Linked DNA regions of Homo sapiens: all the other regions are linked to region 2. The links are contacts of gene promoters, found by promoter capture Hi-C in blood cells and fetal thymus (Javierre and others, 2016). All regions are on one chromosome and are shown on one strand. The core of a region is centred on a gene start or on the middle of the fragment in contact, and the rest is flanking DNA. Distances in the headings are between cores, read along the strand shown.

The links. The method cuts DNA at HindIII sites, captures the fragments that hold promoters and counts their contacts. A CHiCAGO score of 5 or more calls a contact.
Region 1: the fragment with the promoter of S100Z here is called in contact with the fragment with the promoter of AP3B1 in region 2 in 1 of 17 cell types (non-activated CD4 T cells); the score reaches 6.5 in non-activated CD4 T cells.
Region 3: a contact is called between a fragment that was not itself captured here and the fragment with the promoter of AP3B1 in region 2, in 1 of 17 cell types (total CD8 T cells). The highest score is 5.0, in total CD8 T cells.

Annotation. Positions count from the first base shown.
Region 1 is chr5:76,848,106-76,851,634 of GRCh38, forward strand. S100Z (S100 calcium binding protein Z) reads left to right here and starts at 1,909. Exons shown (of 5, transcript NM_130772.4): 1 at 1,909-2,050. The HindIII fragment of the contact is 3,987 bases long and covers 1,329-3,529 here.
Region 2 is chr5:78,293,431-78,296,913 of GRCh38, forward strand. It overlaps AP3B1 (adaptor related protein complex 3 subunit beta 1), which reads right to left and starts at 1,268. Exons shown (of 27, transcript NM_003664.5): 1 at 1,022-1,268. The coding sequence starts at 1,149. RefSeq lists enhancers at 1,531-2,104, 2,479-2,528. The HindIII fragment of the contact is 5,219 bases long and covers 1-3,483 here.
Region 3 is chr5:77,023,857-77,027,678 of GRCh38, forward strand. No RefSeq gene overlaps it. Among named protein-coding and RNA genes, the nearest start is that of AGGF1, 4.6 kb to the right of the region's middle. The HindIII fragment of the contact is 159 bases long and covers 1,816-1,974 here.

The DNA of each region.
Region 1 (3,529 bases), core at 659-3,158, 1.4 Mb before region 2:
ATTTGTAGAGATGGTGTCTCCCTATGTTGCCCAGGCTGTGTTGAACTCTTGGGCTCAAGTGATCCTCCCACCTCTGCCTCCCAAAGTGCTGGGATTACAGGCTTGAGGCACAGCACCCAGTCAAGAGGTTTTTGGGTTTTGTTTGTTTTTTGAGACGGAGTCTCACTCTTGCCCAGGCTGGAGTGCAGTGGAACAATCTTGGCTCACTGCAACCTCTGCCTCCCGGATTCAAACAATTCTCCTGCCTCAGCCTCCCGAGTAGCTGGGATTACAGGCGCACACCACCATACCTGGCCAAGAGTAGTTATTTTGGAAAGAGAGACGTTTCAATCTTCAGAACATATCTTTGGCCGGGTGCGGTGGCTGGTGCCTGTAATCCCAGCACTCTGGGAAGCCAGGCTGGGAGGATCACTTGAGCCCAGGAGTTCAAGACTAGACTGGGCAAGCAACATGGTGAAACCCCATCTCTACAAAAAAATACAAGTATTAGCCAGGTTGTGGTGGCATACCCTGCAGTCCTAGCTATTTGGGAGGCTGAAGTGGGAGGATCACTTGAGCCTGGGAGGTTGAGGTTGCAGAGAGCTGTGATTGTGTCTCTGTACTCTACCCTAGGCAATGGAGCAAGACTCTGTCTCCAAAAAAAAAAAAAAAAAATTTATCTTTGAATTCTTTCTTTCAATATATTGTTATCTGTATTTCTGTACTGAGTGCTGTGCTTCTTGACCTGTCTCTGCCCTTTTCTGTGTATTTATTTATTTAATTGACAAGTAAAAATTGTATATATTATGGTATACAAATACAGCTTGATGTTTTAATTTATGTATACATTGTGGAATTATTAAGTCAAGCTATTTGACTTAATTGCCCCATATACTTGTCATTTTTTGGGGGTGATAAAGACACTTAACATCTACTGTCTTAGCAATTTTCGATACACGATATATTGTTATTAACTATAGATAGCATGCTGTACAATGGGAGCTCTTAAACTTATTCCTCCTGGGCCAGGCGCAGTGTCTCACGCCTATAATCCCAGCACATTGGGAGGCCAAGGTGGGCGGATCACTTGAGGTCAGGAATTCAAGACCAGCCTCACCAACATGGTGAAACCCCATCTCTACTGAAAATACAAAAATTAGCCAGGCTTAGTGGTGGGCGCTTGTAATCTCAGCTACTTGGGAGGCTGAGGCAGAAGCTTGAACCAGGGAGGTGGAGGTTGCAGTGAGCTGAGATGATGCCACTGCACTCCAGCCTGGGTGACAGAGCAAGACTCTGTCTCAAAAAAAAAAAAGAAAAAAAGAAATGCTGTGAGGAATTATTAGCCATGAAGCTTCAGCAGGCAGGTTAGGTAGCTTTTCCAGTCACATACTGGTGAAGTAAGGATTTGAACCCCAAGACTCTGGTGCCAGAGTAATTGCTCTTCACCATGAGGAGGCACCAGTGGGGGAGTGTTGGATCACAAGCAGTTTCTTTTTCTTTTTTTTTTGTTTTTTTGAGACGGAATCTGGCTCTGTCACCTAGTCTGGAGGGCAGCGGCGAGCTCAGCTCACTACAACCTCTGCCTCTCAGGTTCAAGCGTTCTCCTGCTTCAGCCTCACGAGTAGCTGGAATTACAGGCGCCCGCCACCATGCCTGGCTAATTTTTATATTTTTAGTAGAGATGGGGTTTCGCCACGTTGACCAGGCTGGTCTCAAACTCCTGACCGCAAGTGATCCACCCACCTCAGCCTCTCAAAGTGCTGGGATTAGAGGCATGAGCCACTGCACCCAGCGCAATTTCGTTAGAGACTTGGTGCCTTCCCATTTCTTTTACTCAGCAATATACCAGCTTTAGGTCCTAAATTAAACCTCTTCCTGCTTTCCCACCTGATGAAGAAACGTGCCTGCAGTGTGGTGAGTCTGGACCACGCAGACTCAGAACAGCACTACTCACAGCAGGGCCTCTTGCTCGCTCTAGCTGCTGGGAGGAAAACGGCTTGCTAATCTCCACGCCCAGAAATTCAGACAAGAGCATTCTCCTTATCTCATCTGCACAGGAAGCAGGTCTAAGGTAAAAGATTATTTTTGTGGAAGATTCTTGCTTTTCAGTCTAGTGGTTGAAGTGTGAGCCTGGCAGGCGTTGGATTAGAGAGGGCAACAAGAGTGGAGGTTGTGAGGTGGGGGGTTGCCTTGGGGCTTCCACTCTAAAATGTGGCCTTACCTTGGCCACAAAGGGGTCGGGGGGGTGGGGGAGAGAGAGAGAGAGAGAGAGAGGGAGAGAGCAGCCTGATCATAGCTCGGAGCGTAGAGGTTCTGGTAAGTTCCTTGCCCTAAAGAACACTTAGTTCATTCTGGCTCCTTTCCTGGTGACCATCCTGGCTTCCTGCTTGGCCTTCACCTCACCTTGAGAAATTCAAGTTTCATGTTCTTGTCCAGGCCAAAGACCCAGAAGAACCTTCAAGGTGAGGCTTGGCCCCTTAGATCCACGCCGTGATTTCGCTTCTTTTTCCTGAAGCCTGCACAGATGCCAGTGTAAGCCCACTCCCAGGAAGTCACAGCAGTGGTCTATGCTCCTCCTCTTCACACTGGCCAGTGCTGGGCATGCCTGGACAATCAGCCCTGGAATGGCTGCTCTCAGCCTACAGAAGAAGAGAGGGAAGAGGGATGGAGGGGCTGGGGAGAAGTTGGTGAGAGGACACAAAATTTGGGTTAGACAGAGAAATAAAGTTTTTTTTGTTTTTTGTTTTTTTCTGAGATGGAGTTTCACTCTGTCACCCAGGCTGGAGTGCAGTGGTGTGATCTCAGCTCACTGCAACCTCCACCTCCCACTTGGCTTCCCAAAGTGCTGCGATTACAGGCATGAGCCACCGCTCCCCAGCCTCCTCATGGGATTTTTGAGGATGACATAAAGGAATACATTTAAACTGCCTAGAAGGGTGCTTGGCCCAGAGTATGTGCTAATTAACGTTGGCTACTATTATTTTCCTTCAACCCAGTGCCGGTGCAGGTCTAGAGGAAAGCATGAGGTGATACAGGGGCACCCAGAGGCGGAGTGCTCCCAGGAGCTGAGGGGCATCGGAGGCTTCCCTGGAGGACTGGCACCTGAGCAGAGGAATGGGCAGCACAGTGGCAGTGCCACGTGTGCGGCACAGATGGTGCAGAGGGGATGGGTGGGCACACTGCGGGGAGTTTAGATTTAGCCAGGGGATGGCAGGGCCTGTCCAGGAGGTTAAGTGAGGAGCTCAGGTGTGCCTCCCAGCAGGCAGGGGAGGCTAATTTTGAAGAAGAGCAAAGTAGGTGCAGGAGGTGAGTTGGGATCTCATGCAGTAATTCAGGCCAGAAGTGACAAGGGCCTGAACTATGGCGCTAGGGTTGAGGAGGAAGGAACAGAGAGTGAGGAGATACAACCTGGCAACTGATTGCATGAGAGAGAGAGAGGGGCCAGGAATAGCATCATACTCAGGTTTCTGGCCATGCAGTTGGGTGAATGAGGGTATTGCTGTTGACTGGAGCAGCAAAAAAAGGGGATCCCCTCTGGGGTAGAGGAAGA
Region 2 (3,483 bases), core at 18-2,517:
ATGCTATATATATGATTTTGATCCTCAATACAGCCAAAATGTAATCCCAATTTGAAGTAGTAGCACTTTCTAGACTACCCAATATTGTTAGTAACGTTTAATTTAAATTTTAATTATACCCTCTAACAGATCTGCAAAGCTACTAGCACAGCTATTCTACCTTAATTTAGCATGAATTTAGTGACAGACTATTATGTGACCCTATTGCTTAGTAATGAAAGATTTAAAATAAGAGAAATGTAAAAATGATAATTCTGGTAAATGTAACCACTACCACCAACCCACCCCCCAAAACAAACAACTTGGGATTTCTTTCCATTTCTCGGTGATACTTTTTACAAAACTAAGTGTACCTTGTTTAACATTCGTTTTTAAAATTCACATTATTAATCTGTAAAAGTTTTGGATTTGTTCACAGTAACACTCTTTTAAAATATTTTCTATTCATATGCTTATTTTGGATTGGTGTTTTTGTCTGTAGTGCAAAGGACATAATCCAAGAACATTAATACTGGTGTAAACCAGTTTGTCCATTCAAACAGCCTAAATCCACCTCTCTGCTCCTACACTCCGGGGTCACAAAATAACTTCCCACAAGCAACACTCGCACTCTCACCTTCACCAAAACACTCCTTTCACCCTAATCAGGGAATGTATTAAAGTCTGATCCGGCGAACGGTAAATAAACTAGAAGACGATGCTCAAAATTCAGACTCCTGAGCCCAGCCCAAGTCCAATTCAATCAGTGTCTTCAGGGGTGGGATCTAAGCTCACCAAGTGGTTTCCTTTTCACTAAAGTTTGAAAACTACTAGAGACCCCTACACACATTCGCCCCAAACTCCCACAACTCCCACCACCGCCAACCAACCCCACCTACCCACCCGCGGGACACGTTACCGCCCTGCCCTGCTCAGACCTCAGGGCGACCCCGCTCCTCTCCAGGAAGCCCACCCTGGCGCCCACTCCTCCGAGTCCGCAGCTCCTCCCTCCCATCCCCGCAACCCAAACCTTTCTCCTCACTTCTTCAAATCGCTGCTAAAGAGGCCGAAGGCCCCCGAGGGGGAAATGGTTGAGGTCGCCTCCTGACCCAGCTCCGTCGCCTCCCCTCCTCCGGACTGCTCATTGTAAGGAAAACTATTGCTGGACATTGCCGCGGTGCTGGCGGGTGCGGGGTTGGTCCTGCCGGGGGTTCTCTCCAAAAGGTTCCAGTCCAGAGGGCACGGAACAAAACTAGTTCTCGTACGGAGGAGCGCGCGCAGGCGCTTCCGGACTCGTCACGGCTCCCTGAGCCGACCTGGCAGTCCACCCCCTGCGCATGCGCAGTGTGCAGGCCTGCTAGATTACCACCCGGGCCATCCAGGCCTGCGCGGACTTTCCTGCTCCGGGCTTTAGAGGTAGCTGAGCGGCTGCGAGCCGGACTGCGGAAGGGGAGGCAGCGGGTGGCTAACTGCCCGGCTCCCGGCCCGTTTGAGGTGTGTCTTTGGAGAAGGATACCCATTGCATCCGTTTTGATCCGTTAAGGAGTTTCCAGAGCCCGGACAGCTCTTTGCTATACTTCAGTAAAGCAATAGTTTTCAGATTTCTCCGGAAATGCCATTTAGCACGCCAGATCACCTTTCCTAAACCCATCACGATCGCTTTTCCTTTTCTTGCTTGTTTCGGCTACTCTCTTCCATCCGGCTTTGCCTTACTTTCATATCGGTCCCAAACAACTTTTCTCCTAGACTTTAAGGAGGCCTCTCCCAACGATGGTTTGGAGGATCCGCACAGAAGCGACCATTCCATCTTTTCAATGAAAGTCTTGGGGGCAGACCGGGCGCGGTGGCTCACGCCAGTAATTCCAGCACTTTGGGAGGCCGAGGCGGGTGGATCACTTGAGGCCAGGAGTTCGAGACCAGCCTAGGCAACATAGCGAGACCCTTTCTCTGCAAAAAATATAAAAATTAGCCGGCGTGGTGGCGCGTGTCTGTGGTCCCAGCTACTGAGGCTGAGGTGGGAGGATCACTCGAACCCAGAAGGAGGGGGTAGCGATGAGTTGAGATCTCTCCACTGCATTCCAGCCTGGGCGACAGAGCGAGACCCTGTCTCAAAAAAATGAAAAAGAAAAGAAAACATCTTGGGGCCACCAGTTCCCGTTTGGAGCTGAAGTGGTGCGTCCTATTGGCGTCTAGCTACCAAAAATAAAATGGACCACCTCGCGCGCCAGTCGTGTTACTCACTAATATGCACTAGGGAGCCTAGGCGGGATGCTTGCCTGGCCCCAGAGTAGCTCTCTCCGGGTGCTGGCACCCGAGAAAACCTCTTTCCCGGGGTGCCTTCCCCCAGCCCGCCTTCTCAGGTGGGTTTCAGCGCCTTCCCTCTCTTCTCCCCAGTGCCTCCCGTCCAAGGAAGGCATTAACACCCAAAGCCCTGGCGGCCAGGTACTGAAACTGTCAAGGGATTCTACCAGGTAGAACGCGAACCTGGAGGCCGGCCGCCCCAGGGAAGGCGGTGGGGCGTTTTCAAGGATGAGAGTATGATCTCCAAATTTCAAAAGGTCACACTGTCACTGTGGAAGCACGCAAGAGCGTGGCTCTGGGTGGGAGAGGAAGGGACGTCCTCCAAACTTGATCGTCTGGTCAAATATTGGCAGGTTTTTAATTCAGCTGTTAGAATACTCCTCCGGAGAGCCAATGATGAGCACCTAAAATGTGTTATTTGTCAGTATTAATTAATAGAATTTCACCTACAACTGACTATTGATGATGAGGATGAGGATGATCATAGATAACTATATATTATTATATAATCCTTAATATATACCAGGATATAAGTAGTTTTATATATATTAAAACTTCTAAGTAGTTTTATATATATAAATAGTTAAAGTAGTTAACTTTTAATATAAAAAAATTTATTTTAAGTTAAAATAAATACTTTTAAGTTAAAATAGTTAACTTTTAATATATATTAAAAGTTCTAAGTAGTTTTATATATATTAATAGTAAAAAGAGCTAGGCTTTGATTACTTTATTTGTAAAATGAGAACATTGATATACACATAGCCTGGAAAATCTCGGACACATACCTGATTACAGAATTTCTTGGTTTTAGAGCATGTACACTTTTACCAGATATCCTAAATTTTTTTCCAGCATACTTTTAGCAGTGGATAATCTTCTTTCTTCACATTCTCACAAACGTTTAGCTTTCTAAAAATGTTTAATTGTCATCAATATGATACAAATGAATATTATTTGTATTGTAATTAATTTTCATTCTCATGGCCATAATGAACTTGAGAATATTTTATGTGATTGTTACTCCATTTGCATTTTATTTCCTGGGAATTGCACATGAACCTATTTATCCACTTTTACACTGAGTAGTTTTTCTGATGGACTTGAAGAGTTCTTTATCATTGAGTCTGTTATTTTTAATTAACTGCTTGATTTTATTTTGTAATATTTTTATTTTTTCATACAGACTCAGGTAGGAGACTG
Region 3 (3,822 bases), core at 645-3,144, 1.3 Mb before region 2:
GTAAGAATTTTAGCTGGGGGTGGAGAATAGTGTCTTACTTAGCTTCCTCGGGCTTCCTTTACCATCACTCCAGTGTTTTAATGTTATATCCCCCCATTTTTTTCTTGGGCCTCCAGGGGAGGAAACGGGTAATGGTCAATTGACCAAAAGTAACATGGGGCAATAAATCAGAACTATTGAAATGCTATGGTTCCCCCAGATATTCTCCTGTGGCATCAAAAAGTTGAATCAGGTAAGGAAAAGTTGGCTACCCACCATATCCAATATAAATTATGACAGGTGGATATTAATTAAATATAAATTGATGACACTCTAAAAGAAATTGGACATAAATCAGCTTTTATTGAATTGACAATATTCTTCTGTTGTGGAATATTATAATATCTCAGGCATTTGAACTCCAGCCTGATTCAATTCATAGGCTCCTGGAATGGCTCTAGATCAGATTGAGTATCAATTAGCTATTGCTGCATACTAAACACCCCAAACCTCAGTGGCTTTAAACAACCATCCTTCATTATTTCTCACAAGCCTAGGGGTGATGTGTGGGCTGGCTGATCACCACCACCAGGCTTGCTAATGTGTCTGAGGGTTTCCTGAAGTCTCTGCTCTAGCCTGGACTTAGCTGGAGCATCTAAGCTAGGAGAGGTCTGCTCCCTGTATTATTCATCTTTCTCCTGAGACCAGCACACATGCCTGGGTATGTTCTTCTTGTGGCAATGGCAGGAAATCCAGAGGGCAAGCAGAATCACTAAGGCCTTGGGACTTAGGCTTAGATGTGTCACTCTTCTGGCACATCACATCATTCTGCTGACCAAAGCAAATCACATGGCCAAACCAGCTCAAAGGTGAAGGGGAGATTCTTCCCTTTTAGTGAGGAAAACCACAAAATCACATGTCAAAGGATGAGGAAGAAGACCGATAAAGAACTGGGGCCATTCATGCAATTTCCAAAGTGTGATGGTTAATTTTATGTGTCAGCTTGATTGGGCCACAAGATGCTCATTTATCTCCTTCAATATTATTTCTGGTGTGTGTGTGAGGTTGTTTCCAGAAGACATTTGAATTGCCAAACTAGGTAAAGCAGATGGCCCTCCCCAATGTGGATGGGAATTCTCCAACCCACTGACGGCCTGAATAGAAGAAAAAGACAGAGTAGAGTTGAATTCTTGCTCTGCCTGACTGCTTGAGCTGGAACATTGATCTTCTCCTGCCCTTGGCACTCCTGGTTCTCAGACCTTCAGACTCGGATTGGAATCTATACCATTGGCTCCCTGGCTCTCATGCCTTCAAATGACACCACGGGCTTTCCTAGGTATCCAGCTTGCAGACAACAGATTGTGGGACTTCTCAGCCTCTATAATCACTGAGCCAATTCCTTATGATAAATCATATGACAGCCAGGCACGGTGGCTCACACCTACAATCTCAGCACTTTGGGAGGCCGAGGCAGGTGGATTACCTGAGGTCAGGAGTTTGAGACCAGCCTGACCAACATGGTGAAACCGTGTCTCTACTAAAAATACAAAATTAATTGGGTGTGGTGACAGGTGCCTGTAATCCCAGCTACTCGGGAGGCTGAGGTGGGAGAATTATTTGAACCCGGGAGGCCGAGGTTGCAGTGAGCCGAGATCACACCACTGCATTCCAGCCTGGGAGACAGAGCGAGACTCCATCTCAAAAAACAAAACAAAACAAAATAAATCATATGACACTGAAGTTACAGAAATCACTTTTCTAATTTGAATCATTTTTTTAAAACAGAGAGATTTCACATAAAAATCCTGATTGATTTTTTTTTTTCGAAAAATCAGAAGCTTTGCAACACAGGGTCCACATTCCCATATGTCTCCACAGTTCGCAGGAGCTGAGTAGCAGCTGCCCTGTCCATTCATTTGCTTTATCTCCCTAGCCCTTGGAGCCATTTGAGTTTGCTTTACACAGTAGTAGTTCTACAGCCAGATCTGTTTCTCAAGCTTCAGATAGGCTTCTGCAGTGCTCACTATTTACTGAACACCTCAAATTCAATATAATTAACAATATCGAAACTAAAGCATCCCTTCCTCCTCATGCAACATACTCTTCTCCAATAGTCCCTATCTTCCTCATCCAAGCTAGAAACCTATTCATCACTTTGACTTTTCTTTCCCTCTCTAATATACTACAGTATACAATTTTATTCACAATAAAACTACGGTGTGTCTAGGAAATAACCTAAGAAAGAATACCCAAGACCTTTCCCGAAACAAGTGTTAAAATTGTACTAAAGTCCAAGAAAAATATTAAGCAAAAATGTATGTGAATTGACTATCTAAATAAAGTTTTATGTTAATTCCCCTAAATAAATCTATACATTCAATGTAATCTTAATAAAAATCCCATTGGATTGTTTGAGGAACTCAACGAACTCATTCTAAAATTTATATGGAAAAATAGAGGTTTATGAATAAGCTGATTTTGAAAAAGAAAAACAAAATAGGGCCTTGCCCTACCAGTTAAGGCATACTAAAGAACCTAAGTGATAAAAACAGAGTGGCTCTGGCATGGGAGCAGACTAATAGACAAGTGGAAAAGAATGGCGAGCTCAGAACTAGGCCCATATATAAAGATGGGAACCTGATGGAAGATGATGGTGGTACTACAAAGCAATGCAAAGGGGATGGTCTTGAGAAAACTAGGTCATGTCTGAATACCCCCAGCTGGAATAGAGAACAAATGTGAAAGTTCAAATTATAAGATCAATAGAAGAAAATATGACTTGGGGTAAGGAAAGTCTTCATGAAACCCTACACTGTAAAGCCAAATAAAATTTTAAAAAGTAAAATAAAATAAAGACTGATTTCATGACATACAAATTAAGAACTCCTGGCTAACAAAGAACACTGGACAAAGCTAACAAATATATGACAAACTGGGAGAAGATATCTGTAATATCTAAAACTGATAAAGAAGGAATACCTTGTTTATATAAAGAACTGCAAAATAACAAGAAAGAAATGGGCAAAAAGATATGGATAGGCAATTCACAGAAAGGAAAGGACATATAGCCATTTCAACATATATACATTTCAACAAATGTATGAGATTCTCTAGTAATCAGAGGAGTATCAATTAAAACAGCAAGGAAATAGCTCATTATATTCATAATGGCAAAAAGTACAAAAAATGGTTCATATCATTTATTGGAGAGGATGTGGGAAAAAAACATTACAAAACAAAATCAAATCGTGAAGGGTGTCAAGTAGAATGCTTTTTTAGGGCAGCGCCTCTGCCCACTATGCTAAGTACCTCTTAGATCTGAAAACTAGGTGTGGCAAAGACTGCTATTTACATACTCAACATGAATTTTGCCCTTCTTCCTTACTTGTAGAACCCCTATATTATTAGGAGAATAATGCGTCTAGCTTAGAAAAACACACATATACACATAATTCCCAGCCCCACTTGCAGCAAGGGGTGGCTATTGATAGGTAGACAGGAACCATTGAGTGGGGCTTTGGGAAAGTCCTTTCATCCCTTGCCATCTTGCACCATGGATCGACCTGGAGGCTCTGGAAACATGCTCCGAGAATAGCAGAGCAGAAAGACATACCGAGCCTGGGTCCCTGAAGAACTGTGGAGTCACTGGCCATGGACTGCCCCTCTCTAGGCTTCTGTAATGTAACAGGATAACACCCTAATTTGTTTAATAAGCCACTATAGACCACCTCTGATACTAGCACCTTAATGCAATTCCTGATATTCAAGGCTTTTTCTAAAAAAATGTCATTCTTTTCTAATGGTCAGAGGTAGGATACAGACTGGTATTACAAGGTAAAGATA